Regions from separate parts of the Homo sapiens genome. Here all the other regions are linked to region 2. The links are contacts of gene promoters, found by promoter capture Hi-C in human tissues and cell types (Jung and others, 2019). All regions are on one chromosome and are shown on one strand. Each heading gives the region's core, a stretch centred on a gene start or on the middle of the fragment in contact. The rest is flanking DNA. Distances are from core to core; before and after follow the strand shown. Region 1 has its middle 21 kb from the start of NEK3. Region 2 holds the start of CCDC70 (coiled-coil domain containing 70). Region 3 has its middle 6.9 kb from the start of INTS6-AS1.

Region 1 (4,311 bases), core at 1,006-3,505, 320 kb after region 2:
GGTGGGGAAAGCTTAGTGCAGCAGAATCGGAATTTGAATCCAGTTCTACACAACACCAACACTGTTTCTGTTGAGCTATACTGCCTGTCAACTCTCGGATAACCAGTAGGGCCTATGACAATATCCTTTGTAGCAGTGGTAAGAATTTAGTGGGGAACAAGACGTGGGAATCATGGAACAGAATAACTCAATCAATCGGTCAATAAAAAAATTACTGAATGCCAACTATATTTCCAGCATTGTTTGGGATATAAGATAACAACAATGAACAACTGCTAAATTTAAGTTTCCACATTTTGTTATTCTTGTACTTAAATGGAAACAAAAAACATTCTTTAGACTCATGCAAGTACAGCACATTCAAACAGTAACTTCATTAAATTATTACATAAATTTGTGTGCTACTTTCCTCACTAGAATATAATCATTTGATACTGTTTTATAAAATACATAAAATTTAAATGCCTCCTTGCCAACTAATTTCAGTTTAAGAAATAAGATTTTTTTATTTTAAAAAGTAAGCTGGCTTCTTCCGGAATCCAAGTATCTCTTTTGGCTGGACAACAGCAGCTGCCCTGACAAAAAATTCCTTTCTGATGCACACTTAACGGATACCATTTGAGCAGGGGAGAGGTGATTCATTGTCCCTATGCATTTTGCATTTCCTTTTTATCATACACAACAGAATGCAGTTTTTGTAATACAGGGGGTTGTTCTTTTAGCTTCACCTTCAGTTCTAACGAACAAACGTTAATTGAATTCACTACTTTCCTTTATAGATGTATATTTTATACTACAGTTTCTTCAAAAAGAATTTAAGATTTAAGATAACTAGTTCCTATGATCTGTAAGCCACATGAGTAGATGCTATAGGGTATATAGACATGAATGAGATCTAGCCTCTAACATAGTTTATTAAATAGGGGGAAAATCAGAAGTTCATGTAAGTAACTGGTAGAAAGATTAAATGAGCCATTGGAGGCTGGCCTAGGAACTTATCTATCACGTACAACATTTTTTTTTCTCCTTTGAGGGGGGGTCTCACTCTGTCACTTAGGCTGGAGTGTTATGGCACAATTGTAGCTCATTGCAGCATTGAATTCTGGGCTCCAGTGATCCTCCCACCTCAACCTCCCAGGTTGCTAGGACTATAGGCATGCACCACCATACCCAGATAATTTTTTTCTATTTTTTTACAGAAAGGATCTCACTATGTTGCCCAGGCTGGTCTTGAACTCCTAATCCCAAGCCATCCTGTCATCTCAGCCTCCTAAGTGCATATACAACATTATTTCTATCAAAGTCCAAAAAACTAACTTCTATTCATTAGAAATGCTCATCACTTACACTCTGGAGACCATCTGTATTGAGTTTCTTCATTTATTTTACTAGTAAACCAAATTTAATGCCAAGCAAGAGGACACTCATTTCTCTTTTAGACTTAAATGGTAAATTTCTTACCCAAAGAAAAGGGGAAGAACAGAGAACAAAGACCAACCATGTGTTAAGAAAAAAACACAAGTCTCTTAAATATATTCCTTGAATGTTCTTCCCATCTCCTGAACAATCACTAAATCACTTCAATAAGTTATTTTATAAATGCTATCTCCTCTTCTAGATAGCAAGCTGCCTAGGGACAGGAACCAGTATGTCTTTATGTAATAGCATAGAGATACACTGCAAATGGTAGGTGATTAATAATGTTCTAACCCAAATTAGGGGCTAATCTGGACCTCTGGATTCATGTAATCGGTAATACTCACCTCCCATTATCTCACAGAATGCAACATTTCAAGAGGGAAACTGAACCACAACTAGCAATCTCAACAACTGTAGTGTGGTATGTCCCCCACCAGGTTACTGTGTATGTGTGTTGCTTGAACCCTGAAGGCTGGGCAGGGAGCCAAGGCCACAGTGCCTAGCTGAGGAGCAGGTGTCCCTGAGAACCCAAACATCCCAGGGCATACCTCAAAACATATCAAGGAAAACAGTCTCATCGTGCACACACAGTAGGCAAACAGCCAGAATATAAGCTTAAAAGCAGCTTAGAGATAAGAGGCAGGGTGACTCTACAGCTGCCCAGAAATGTCCAGTAGGTAAGTTCTAGTAAACTCATCTATTCATCAAGCTGGACTTGCCCAAATTATTCTTTGGTCTCTCGATGCCTTCCCAATTTGGGGGGACGTTATAGTCCCGAGTTTTCCTTCTAACAACCGCCACATTCATCATTCGGATCCAGGCCAATGACAGGAGGGAATATTAAAATATCCGACTATTACACCATCAAAACCTTCAGGACATCTTGTAAAGATGGAATATTTCTCCACCTGAGAAACAGTTATTCTTAACAAACCTGTTCAGGTGCTTCTTTAGTAACTGTCGTCACGTCAAAACTATTACATCTCTTCCCCTTGAATATGTTTTTCCTAAGACAAAAAAAAAAAAAGAATATTTTAATGAATATATTTTAAACTGTCAACAAAAATTATGAGAAAAAAATTTAAGTGAAATATTCTATGTAAAAATTCAAAATAATTCCACTGACGCACATCAAACATCTTACCTAAATTGCCACATTTTTAGGACCGATAGACTAAAAACAGAAATGTGCACTTGAAGTTTTGCTTCATAATACAACAAATCAGTTACAGCAACTTAATTTCCAAAATATCTAATTGAAAAGATTAGCTCAATTTGCCATAATTTTTATTTGTTCCCTTTTATATTAAGTTTTAAAAACTCTATGTTGTGAAAAACTATAAAACTATGCAAAAAAGAAGCTGTTGAAGTCGACATTTGTTTTTAAGGGCAGAAAACATTGCAATGTTTAATTACAAATTATAATTACAAAAGATTGCATAGGTAAATCACAACATTCCCTTTCATAAAGCATTCTGTAAAATAACTTTCTTTACATGACGATTTTTAATTAACTATTGAAATTAATATCAGAGTTAATAAGTAACATTGTCTTGCAAACTTGATATGCTTTATGCATCAATTTACATATTTACTTGAATAAACTTACTGGCAGATTAAAATCCAGTTTATAAACTGGAGGGTTAATTTTAAAAATAATTTCAAATTCTTTTTTTATGGACTAAGTTACTTTTCTCTACTAAATAGAACTGGAAAAAATGCAAATACCATATGAACGTTAAATAATGTGATCTCAAGTCATACAAGTTTTCCTCTAGCAGGTTCCTAAGTTATTTGTAAACAAAGGTTTTTATGCCAGAATTTTCCTCAGTGCCTTGCATTCTTCTCCCTCAACCGAACATCCGGTGAACAGGATGGTGGATTAAAGCAAGTCACAGCAGAGAGGAAATGCCTTGGTAAAGCACTGAACTTCAAAAGAGGAATGTACAACAGAGAAAGGGAATGGACATTTGCTGAGCACCTACTATGTACCAGATAGTTTATACGTGGTTTCTTTTCTATTCCTCAAGAAAGCCATTTAAGCTAGGTTTCACTTTCAGCATTTTACAGCTGGGGAAACAGGCTGATGAAGGCTATAAAAGGTGCCCCGGTCACAGAATTAGTCAGTGGCAGTGCCAACATTCTGAGAAAGGCCAGTGTGAACTGTCAATTTCCAACAGAAGCAATAAGTCCAGGCCTGGGTTGTCTGGGGTTGATACCTCAGACCCTGCCCAAGTCATATCAGGGTGAACAACTTGGCATCTCACCATTGCTTCCCCTTACTCCCCTTTAGCTGGCTTTTTAACACACTGAAGGCACAGGAACCCCTTTCCTACTTTTTTAGTTTCTCCTTTGCCACCTAATTTTTAAAATATTAAATATCAAATCTAATACTAAAAATCAAATATGCCATCCCGATGTAGCTGCACAGTATTATATGCAAGCTGAATGATTCAGTTAAATTTTCTCCAGTATTAACTGACTCAGTTAAATATTCTTAAGTAAAACTCCAAGAGCACTTTCTACTTTATTCAATAATATGTAACAGATAAGAAATCACTTTAAATTAGTAATTCAAATAATATTCCAAAGTCACCATAAATTATTGAACTTTGTGTGTTAACTGCTAACCACCTTTTCCAACTTTCCTGTATAAATCAGTAATTTAACACCCAGGAGTTAACTCAAGTGCCTGATTTTACTTAAAACAAATCCACGGAGGCCAGGTGTGGTGGCTCACGCCTGTAATCCCAGCACTTTGGGAGGCTGAGGCAGGTGGATCACGAGGTCAGGAGATCGAGACCATCCTGGCTAACACAGTGAAACCTCATCTCTACTAAAAATACAAAAAATTAGCTGGGCGTGGTGGCGGGCACCTGTAGTCCCAGCTAC
Region 2 (4,562 bases), core at 710-3,209:
AGCCTTCCAAGCAGCTGGGACTACAGGCATGCACCACCACAACTGACTAATTTATTTTAGTTTTGTAGAGACAGGGTCTTGTTATGTTGCTCTGGCTGGTCTCAAACTCCTACCAGGAGGACGCTCAAACCATCCTCCCTCCTCGGCCTCCCAAAGTGCTAGGATTACAGGCATGAGCCACCATGCCTGGCCTGAAACTGTTATTCTCTGAGTAATTGTCTTTTTGGTTATAAACTGTCTCTGAGGAATTGCAGATATTGGGCGATTAAACCAAGATTTTTAGTCAGCTATTACAAATGTAGTTAAAGAACTAAAAGAAACCATTCCAAAAGAATTAAAGGAAAACAAGGCCAGGTGTGATGGCTCACACCTATAATCCCAACAGTTTGGGAAGCCGAATGGGTAGATCACTTGAGCCTAGAAGTTTGAGGCCAGCCTGGGCAACATGGAGAAACCTTATCTCTAAAAAAACACAAAAAATTAGCTAGGTCTGGTGGCGCACGCCTGTAGTCCCAGCTACTTGAGAGGCTGAGGTGGGATGATCACTTGAGTCCAGGAAATTGAGGCTGCAGTTAGCCAAGATCATACCATGCCATTGCACTCCAGCCTGAGTGACAGAAACATGTCTCAAAAAAAAAAAAAAAAAGCATTAAAGGAAAGAATTAAAAACTATGCCTTACCAAAAAGAGACAGAAAAGTATGTGTGCATACATATATATATGTGTGTGTGTATATATATATATACACACACACACACTTTGTATACATATACTTTTATATAGATATATAGAAAAAATATATATATAGAAGTGTGTGTGTGTGTGTGTGTGTATATATATGTATATAGAAAAGCACATATATCCTTTTCTATATATAACCAAACAAATTCTGGAGACACAGTGAAAATTTCTGGAGAAATTCTGGATGGACTAGGGGTCCACTGACAGATGAATGGATAAAGAAATTGCAGCATGTATATAAAGTGGAATATTATTCAGTCATAAACAGAGAATCCTGCCGTTTGTCACAAGATAGATGAAACTGGAGAATATTATGCTAAGTGAAATAAGCCAGACACAGAAAGAAAAATGCTGCACAACTTCACTTATATGTAGAATATTAAAAAAATTAAAAAGAAGAAGTAAGAAAAAAGTCAAATACACAGACAAAGAATAAAATGGCAGCTGCTACGTGTGGGGAGTGGACGGGAAGAGGGAAATCAAAGGGTACAAAGTTGCAGATATATAGGATAAATAATTTAGAGATCTAAGGTACAACATGAGGACTGTAGTTAATAACACTGTATTAAAGATTTTTGCTAAGAGAGTAGATTGTGGGTGCTCTTGCTACAGTGCACAAAAAAGGGTAACTATATGAGATGATGGATATGTTAATTTACTTGACTATTTAAAAATTTTACTACATGACAAAAATTCTGGAGTTGAAAATGAAAAATTAAAGAGGGATTCAACAGCATATTTGAACTGACAGAAGAAAAAAATCCATGAACTTGTAAACAGGTTAATTGAGATTATCTAATCTAAGCAACAGAAAGAAAAAAGAATGAAGAAAAATGAACGTAACTTTAGAGACCTGGGGGACACACTCACGCTACTAGTATTCACATAATATGAGCCCTAGAAGGAGAGGAGACAGAGAAAATGGATGAAAGAATATTTGAAGAAATAATGGCCAAAAACTTCTGAAATTTGATGAAAAACGGCATCAAATCTGCATATCCAAGAAGCTCAACAATCTCCAAGTAGAATAAACCTCAAGACCAAGACACATCATAGTCAAACTATCAAAAGCCAAAGACGAAGAATCTGGAAAGCAGCAAGAGAAGTGATTCATCCCACACAAAGCCCCCACCAGAACATGACTTCCTAGAACCATGCTCCCGGAACCAATGCTGACAGAATCTAAGGTAACAATCACTTGTGAGTCATCAACAGCACTGCCCTATCAGTGAAGTCAAAGATTGAAGAGGAACTCTTTCAAACCTTTCAAGTGCCCCCTCCTTTCCTTAAAGTCTTTTATAGGGGTCCCCTTCTTGGCCATCTCCATCCTGTGAGTCAGGACTGAAAGGGCACAGACAGGTCACTGCCAGCATTGTTGGGGCAAGCCTGCAAGCACGCATCACTGGGGATCTGACATGACAATGGCCGCCTGCCCCCTCTGAGGGCTACAGGACTTACCCCAGTGGGAAGCAGCTAAGCAGTAAGTAACTGTTGGCTTTAGACTGTATAGTATTTGTTCTAAGCATAAGGTAATATATAATATTTTCCTTAAAAAGAAGCTCCTAGTCTTACAGTATAACTGAAAACTGGGCATGTATCTTTAGTGCATGTTTTTACAGCTATACAGATACACATCTACAGTTTTATATTGTACTTTATATTTTAATACACATCTACCTATTTGATATGGTTCTTATTTTCTTTCTTTCTTAAAGAAAGTTTAGTGTTCACTTGAGAAAAACTTGGAGGTGAATGTTTTCCAACATCCTAACCCAGTAGACGCCCATTCATCCAGCTACTATTTCCTGAACACCTATCCTGTGGCAGAACATTTCGCTGGATGCCAGACATAGAGATGGAAGATGAGGTGTTTCTAGTGGGACAGGAAGGGCACATGCTCAGTCTGAGCTTAGGAGAGATGGCCTGGAGGAGGTATCTGAGTGCTGAAGGATTCGCTAGGTGAACTGAAGTGAGGTTGGGCAAGGATATCCAGGGAGAGGGGGCCAGCATGACATGGAAGTGAGGGAGGACTTCACATATTGGAGGGATTCTAGGCAAAGAGCCATACAACATAGAAAATCAAATTTCCAAAATGCAGTTCAATTCAGTTCAATTCAACCAACATTTTCACCAATTCCCTCCTATATAGGCGGCGTTATATTATGATAGCTGCTGGGTTACAGAGATGTCAGGAAGACATGTCCACACCTAATTTCAATCAAGTGTGACAAGTAATAGTGGAGTAACAGACAGACAGTATCGCAGAGGTGGCGAGGAACTTTGTCTGGAGGGTCCGAGTAGCTTTCAGAGGGGAAAGGATGTACAGGAATTCAAGCCCACCACAGGAACAAAAGGGGCTCTCAGTAGAGGATGCGACATGTGCTTCACCACACAGGCAGGAAACTGCAGGCAGAGTGCCAAGAGCTGAATAGAGCCCGTTAATACTGGGCCTTAGATTTGGAGTTGGGTGCAGGCTGGGTAGGAAGGAGAGGGAGAAGCAAGCTGGAGTTGGGCTGCACAAGGCCTTCCTAGGGCGTTCAGCTTTGATCTTTGGGCTACAGGGTCTTTGAAGGTGTGTGAACTGATGTGATAGGACGAGAGAGTGTTCTAGAAAACACCTGTAGGGCTACAGTGCAGGGGCAGATGAGAGGGTAAGATCAATACAGAGAGCAGCGAGACTGTTACAGGCATCCTGGCCTGACCTGGCTGTCATGGGGGAGATGGAACAGGGGCATGGTTTCAGGAAATGTTAAGGATCTGGATCTCGGCTAGGAGGGCTTGATGGTTGAGGAGAGAAGTCTGGTGAGGGAGAGGGAAAGGTCAAGGATGTGCCCCTGGTTCTGGTTTGTGTGACTGGATGGATGGTGATGCCACCAGCTGTCCACAGCCTAGCCACTGTGTCTTCATATGCACGCGCACACAGACACACACACACACACACACACACACACACACACACACCAGCTATGTGTCTTTTCTCCTCCTCCACTCCCTGTTCCTAAACCAGAAATGGAAAAATACAGAGAAAGCCCTGAAAATTTCCCCAATAGGTCTCACGGATGATGGGTTGGTGAGATCCACTGAGTGAGGGCCGGACCCTGGCAGCTTCCTCCAGAAAGCACAAAATGGAAAACAATGCTGTCAGCATGTGCCTGCACTCCTTATCTGACAACACTGAGCTCTTTACTGCACTCTAACCACCTTCCTATGTCCAGCACTTTTTCTCATCCCTTGATTCATGTTTGTAGTTACAGGGATTGCTATGGATAATTCTGCTATCTGATTCCTCAGATATATGGCAATGTTTGAAGATCTTTCTCCTTCCCTCCCTCCCTTCCTTCCCTCCCTTCCTTCCTTCCCTCCCTCTCTTTTTCTTTTCTTTTTTTCTTTTCCTTCTTTCTTCCTCCCAGCTTTTATTTTATTGTGAAATATACTGTATTGACTGGGGTACATAAAATATCCATGTACCACTTAACACATTTTTATAACAACACACATGAAACCGCCACCAAGCAAAGAAAGAGTCCTGCTAGCACTGCAGAAGCCTCTCTCAAGTACTCACCTAATCACACCCCTTAGTCTCACCTCCTCATCCCACACTCCAAATCCTCCCACACCAGCAACTATTACTCTGACTTTGGGACTCACTTCCTTGCTTTTCTCTTTCTGTGTTGAAGTATGTTCCCCTAGACAATGGCATTTAGTCTTGCTTGTTTGGAACTTCATTCTTTGAAATTCCCTGATCCTGCTTCTCTCTTTCAGCATTGGGTTTATAAGATTTACCCATGCTGTTGTAGGCAGCCATGCTGTCTGCCATGTGGA
Region 3 (4,553 bases), core at 1,241-3,740, 400 kb before region 2:
GTATGTACCTGGCATCTAGTAGTACTCAGTAAATAACTTAAAAAATTCACAAAACTTTAGAGTTAACTGCATTTTTAAGTAGAACTCCTAAAATAAATCTGCACACTAGAGGAAAAAAAAAAAACCCTGGGTGATCACCAATATATTTAACAATGGATTTGTATCATATGCATATTTATGAATTCAACTATGTTTTGCAAAAAAGAAAAAGAGAAAACCAAATACTGCTGGAGATTCCCGCTCTTCCCTTAGTGAGCTTAGGCCCTGGAGTGAGCAAAAGATGAAAAACATGAATCTCTTCTTCACTCAACTTCTATCTGTGATTCTAGAAAGATTCTGGTTATATTCAGCCTTATTTTTCTAAAATGTGGCCCCCAAATGCAAGACAAGTATTTCACCAGACTCACCTGAAGAAACAGTGAGCTCTTGCAGTGCTAGAGAGAAAACTAGTTAGAGTAGTCTGTGCTGAGCCTTGTAATGTTACAGTCTAAAGAATTAGGGAAGATTTTTCTGGGAGGGCAATGGTCAGAATAGGTATATTGGAGAAAACTTCATCTTTGCTGCTGCTTTTAAAGGAATGTTTTCTTAATGCTCTTGCTCCAATTTAAAAGGGCATAAATAAATTATATGAAAACTTTTGAAAGAATGGTGACCCTGGCTTAAATAATAACCTAAATTGTTGAAATGGAGCTATTCTAACAGAATTAAAACTGATGAATTAGATTCATTTGTAAGAGCCAACCAGAGCCCTTTTAAATTATTTTAAACCAATTAAGCAGGGTAACACAGTTTAAAAATAATTATGTGCCAATGACTTGGTTTATGATATCTAGATGTGCCATCTGAGCAGAATAATCAGATACACTTAGTGTTCCTCATATGTAACCTAACAAAGTTTCTTTTAGCTGTCTTACCATTTCCTCAGCGCTCTGCTATACTACTCTCTTTGAGATCACATTAGTCAACGATATGGAGAGGTTGAGAACATCAAATAACATATAAAAGTTATAAGCATAAAAAAATTAGATGCGAAACTGTCCAGCCAATGTAATCAGTTAATACATATCTAAGGAAATTTAATTTTGGTCATACTAATGTTACATCAGCCCTCAAAAGAAAATGCTGGTAGAGATGACTATTAAGAAGAAATTAGATCTTTCCAATGAATGGTGTTTCACAGTAATAGTTGAAGTCTCAGACAATTCAAGATCAGCCCTGAAAAGGGGTACATCCAGATTGACAATTAGAATCAAAGTGGAACAGCAGAAGAACATGAACATTGCAGTCATTCTTTCAACTAATATTAATTCCACACCTAATATATGACAGCCACTGTGTTAGGTCCTCAGAGAATTTATAATCTAGTGGAAAGACAAGACAGATAACAGATAATGAGAATACAATATTATGATGTCAGCAGACCCCAGGCATAAAATAAGATGACTTATAGGGTTCGTTTGACAATTTGAGGTAACATACCATATTTTATCAATTTTAAGACCATGAGTTGTAACAAACACCATTATTTTTGGACCATGGAGGGGGCCGGAGGGAAATGCTGCTACTTAAACTATGACACATAGAATTTTTCCACATTGTATTGAATTCTGCTAAGAGCATTAGTGATGCAACATTTTTTAAAATAATATTCCACTATTATCTTTGGGTTTTTTTTGCAAGCTGTTGGGGTCCATTCTATGAGTTTCAATGCTGGTGCTTTCTTATTGCAACTCAGAGGTATCAATGAAGGGTTTTCAGATCACAACCAGGATTTAAATCCTTTCTTTAAATGATTAGTTGACTGAAATGTCAAGGGTTTGCAGTTGTCTAATCATGCCACCAGGAATAACCAGGAAGTTTGCACATGTTCAGGCTAAGACAACTACATCACAACTACCTTCTGGTGACAGCATTGTAAGACACCATGATTGTAAGATGCCATTCCAGTTTTAGAAATATTGGAAAGATGTACATCTTAGATTTGGCAAAATATCATTTATTGCTGGCAGCTATTAAAATATGTGTTATTAGGAGAATGTACAAAGAGCACTGTGAGCACTGAGGATAGAGCACCTAACTCTCACAAAGGAAGTGATATTTGGGCAGACAGAAGTCATGAGGATGCATGAATGGGTAAGAAAGGGCAGTTTCGAGCTGCAACTACATGTGTGGGAGAGTGGTAGGACCGGATGCTGGGCCATGTCAAGAAGAGTTTCATGTGCTCAACTAAAAAATTTTTGAATCTTATTATTTGGGTGATAGACAAAGTTTTGGGGTCAGGGAGTGACCCTGATGATATAATTTGGCTATATCAAATCTCATGTTGAAATCTGATCCCCAATATTGATGGTGGGGTCTGGTGGGAGGTGATTGGATTACGGGGACAAGTCCCTCATGAATGGCTTGGTGCCATTGTCTGAGGATTGAGTGAATTCTCACTCTTTGTTTCTGCAAGGTCTGGTTGTTAAAAAGAGCCTGGGACCTTTCTCCCGTTTCCCTCTTGCTTCCTCTCTCGTCATCTGACATACCACTCTCTTTCCCCTTCCACCATCATTGGAAGCTTCCAAAAGCAGAGGCTCGCTCTTTCCTTGCCTAACGCAGCCATGGCTTGTGGTCCCAAGAAGCATCTGAAGTGAGTAGCAGCTCCAAAGCACTGGATGCTGGATAAATTGACCAGTATGTTTGCTCCTTGTCCATCCACCAGTCCCCACAAGTTGAGAGTGTCTTCCCCTCATCATTTTCCTAAGGAACAGACTTAAGTATGCCCTGGAAGGAGATGAAGTAAAGAAGATTTGCATGCAGCGGTTTATTAAAATTGATGGCAAGGTCTAAACTGATATAACCTACCCTGCTGGATTCATGGAGGCCATCAGCATTGACAAGACAGAAGAGAATTTCTCTCTGATCTATGACACCAAGAGTCTCTTTGCTGTACATCATATTACACCTGAGGAGGCCAAGTACAAGTTGTGCAAAGTGAGAAAAATCTTTCTGGGAACAAAAGGAATCCCTCATCTGGTGACTCATGATGGTCGCACCATCCGCTACACTGATCCCCTTATCAAGGTGAATGATACCATTCAGATTGATTTGGAGACTGGCAAGATTACTGATTTCATCAAATTCGACACTGGTCACCTGTGTATGGTGACTGGAGGTGCTAACCTGGGAAGAATTGGTGTGATCACCAACAGAGAGAGGCACCCTGGATCTTTTGACATTGTTCACATGGAAGATGCCAATGGCAACAGCTTTGCCACTCAACTTTCCAACATTTTTGTTATTGGCAAGGGCAACAAACTATGGATTTCTCTTCCCTGAGGAAAGGGTATCCGCCTCACCATTGCTGAAGAGAGAGACAAAAGACTGCCAAACAGAGCAGTGGGTGAAATGGTCCCAGGGTGACATGTTAGATCTTTGTACGTAATTGAAAATAATGTGGCAAGATTAATAGCAAAAAAAGAAAAAAAAATCAGAGTCTTATGCCAGGCATGCATCTTGTACAGCCTGCAGAACCATGCGCCAAGTAAACCTCTTTTTCTTTTTTTTTCTTTTTTTTTTTTTTTTTTGAGACAGAGTCTCTCCCTGTTGCCCAGGCTGAAGTACAATGGCGCTATCTTGGCTCACTGCAACCTCCACCTCCCAGGTTCAAGTGATTCTCCTGCCTCAGCCTCCCAAGTAGCTGGGATTACAGGCACCCGCCACCATGCCCAGCTAATTTTGTATTTTTAGTACAGACAGGGTTTCACTATGTTGGCCGGGCTGGTCTAGAACTCATTACCTCAGGTGATCTGCCCGCCTCAGCCTTCCAAAGTGGTGGGATTACAGGCGTGAGCCACAGCACCCAGCTTAAACCTCTTTTCTTTATAAATTACCCAGCCTTGGGTATTCTTTTATAGCAATGCAAAACAGACTAAGACACCCAATAATCAGATTCTTATTTTAGAAAGATAAATTCAGTAGTGATTTGGAGAATGGATTAGAATGAGAAGACAGTGGGCAAGGAGACGAGTTAGACAATTTCTTTTTTTTTTTTTTTTTAGATGGAATCTCATTCTGTAGCCTAGGCTGGAGTGCAGTGGCACAATCTGGTCACTACAACCTCTGCCTCCCAGGTTCAAGCAATCCTTGTGTCTCAGCCTTCCAAGTAGCTGGGATTACAGGCATGCACCACCACACTCAGCTAATTTTTGTGTTTTTAGTAGAGATAGGGTTTTGCCATGTTGCCCAGGCTGGTCTCAAACTCCTTGACTCAAGTGACCCACCCTCAGCCTCCCAAAGTGCTGGGAGCCACCGCGTGAGCCACAGTGCCCAGTTGACAATTTCTGCATTAATCCACAGAACACATAAAAGCACTGTGGAAGTGGCAACAGGGAAGGTGAGAAGAGGATTATCAAAGACATTGTGATGATAGAATGGACAGGACTTGGTGAACTGAGTTGATGCAGGCAGAATCATGATATTGTGTGATTAAAGCCATCTTGTGTCATATAAGGTGAATATCATCAAGCTACTGATAATTGTAAATTCTAATAAGATGTATAACTCATTTC

What was found. The method cuts DNA at HindIII sites, captures the fragments that hold promoters and counts their contacts. A contact is called where the count stands out against the background at its distance.
Region 1: a fragment that was not itself captured here is called in contact with the fragment with the promoter of CCDC70 in region 2 in 2 of the 25 tissues and cell types used here (liver and mesendoderm cells).
Region 3: a fragment that was not itself captured here is called in contact with the fragment with the promoter of CCDC70 in region 2 in 1 of the 25 tissues and cell types used here (hippocampus).

Annotation. Positions count from the first base shown.
Region 1 is chr13:52,178,229-52,182,539 of GRCh38, forward strand. It overlaps the pseudogene MRPS31P5. Among named protein-coding and RNA genes, the nearest start is that of NEK3, 21 kb to the left of the region's middle. The HindIII fragment of the contact is 6,460 bases long and covers 1-4,311 here.
Region 2 is chr13:51,860,010-51,864,571 of GRCh38, forward strand. CCDC70 (coiled-coil domain containing 70) reads left to right here and starts at 1,960. Exons shown (of 2, transcript NM_031290.4): 1 at 1,960-2,220. It also overlaps a transcript of TMEM272 not described here. RefSeq lists an enhancer at 1,562-2,761. The HindIII fragment of the contact is 9,463 bases long and covers 1-4,562 here.
Region 3 is chr13:51,457,925-51,462,477 of GRCh38, forward strand. It overlaps the pseudogene RPS4XP16. Among named protein-coding and RNA genes, the nearest start is that of INTS6-AS1, 6.9 kb to the left of the region's middle. The HindIII fragment of the contact is 4,498 bases long and covers 242-4,553 here.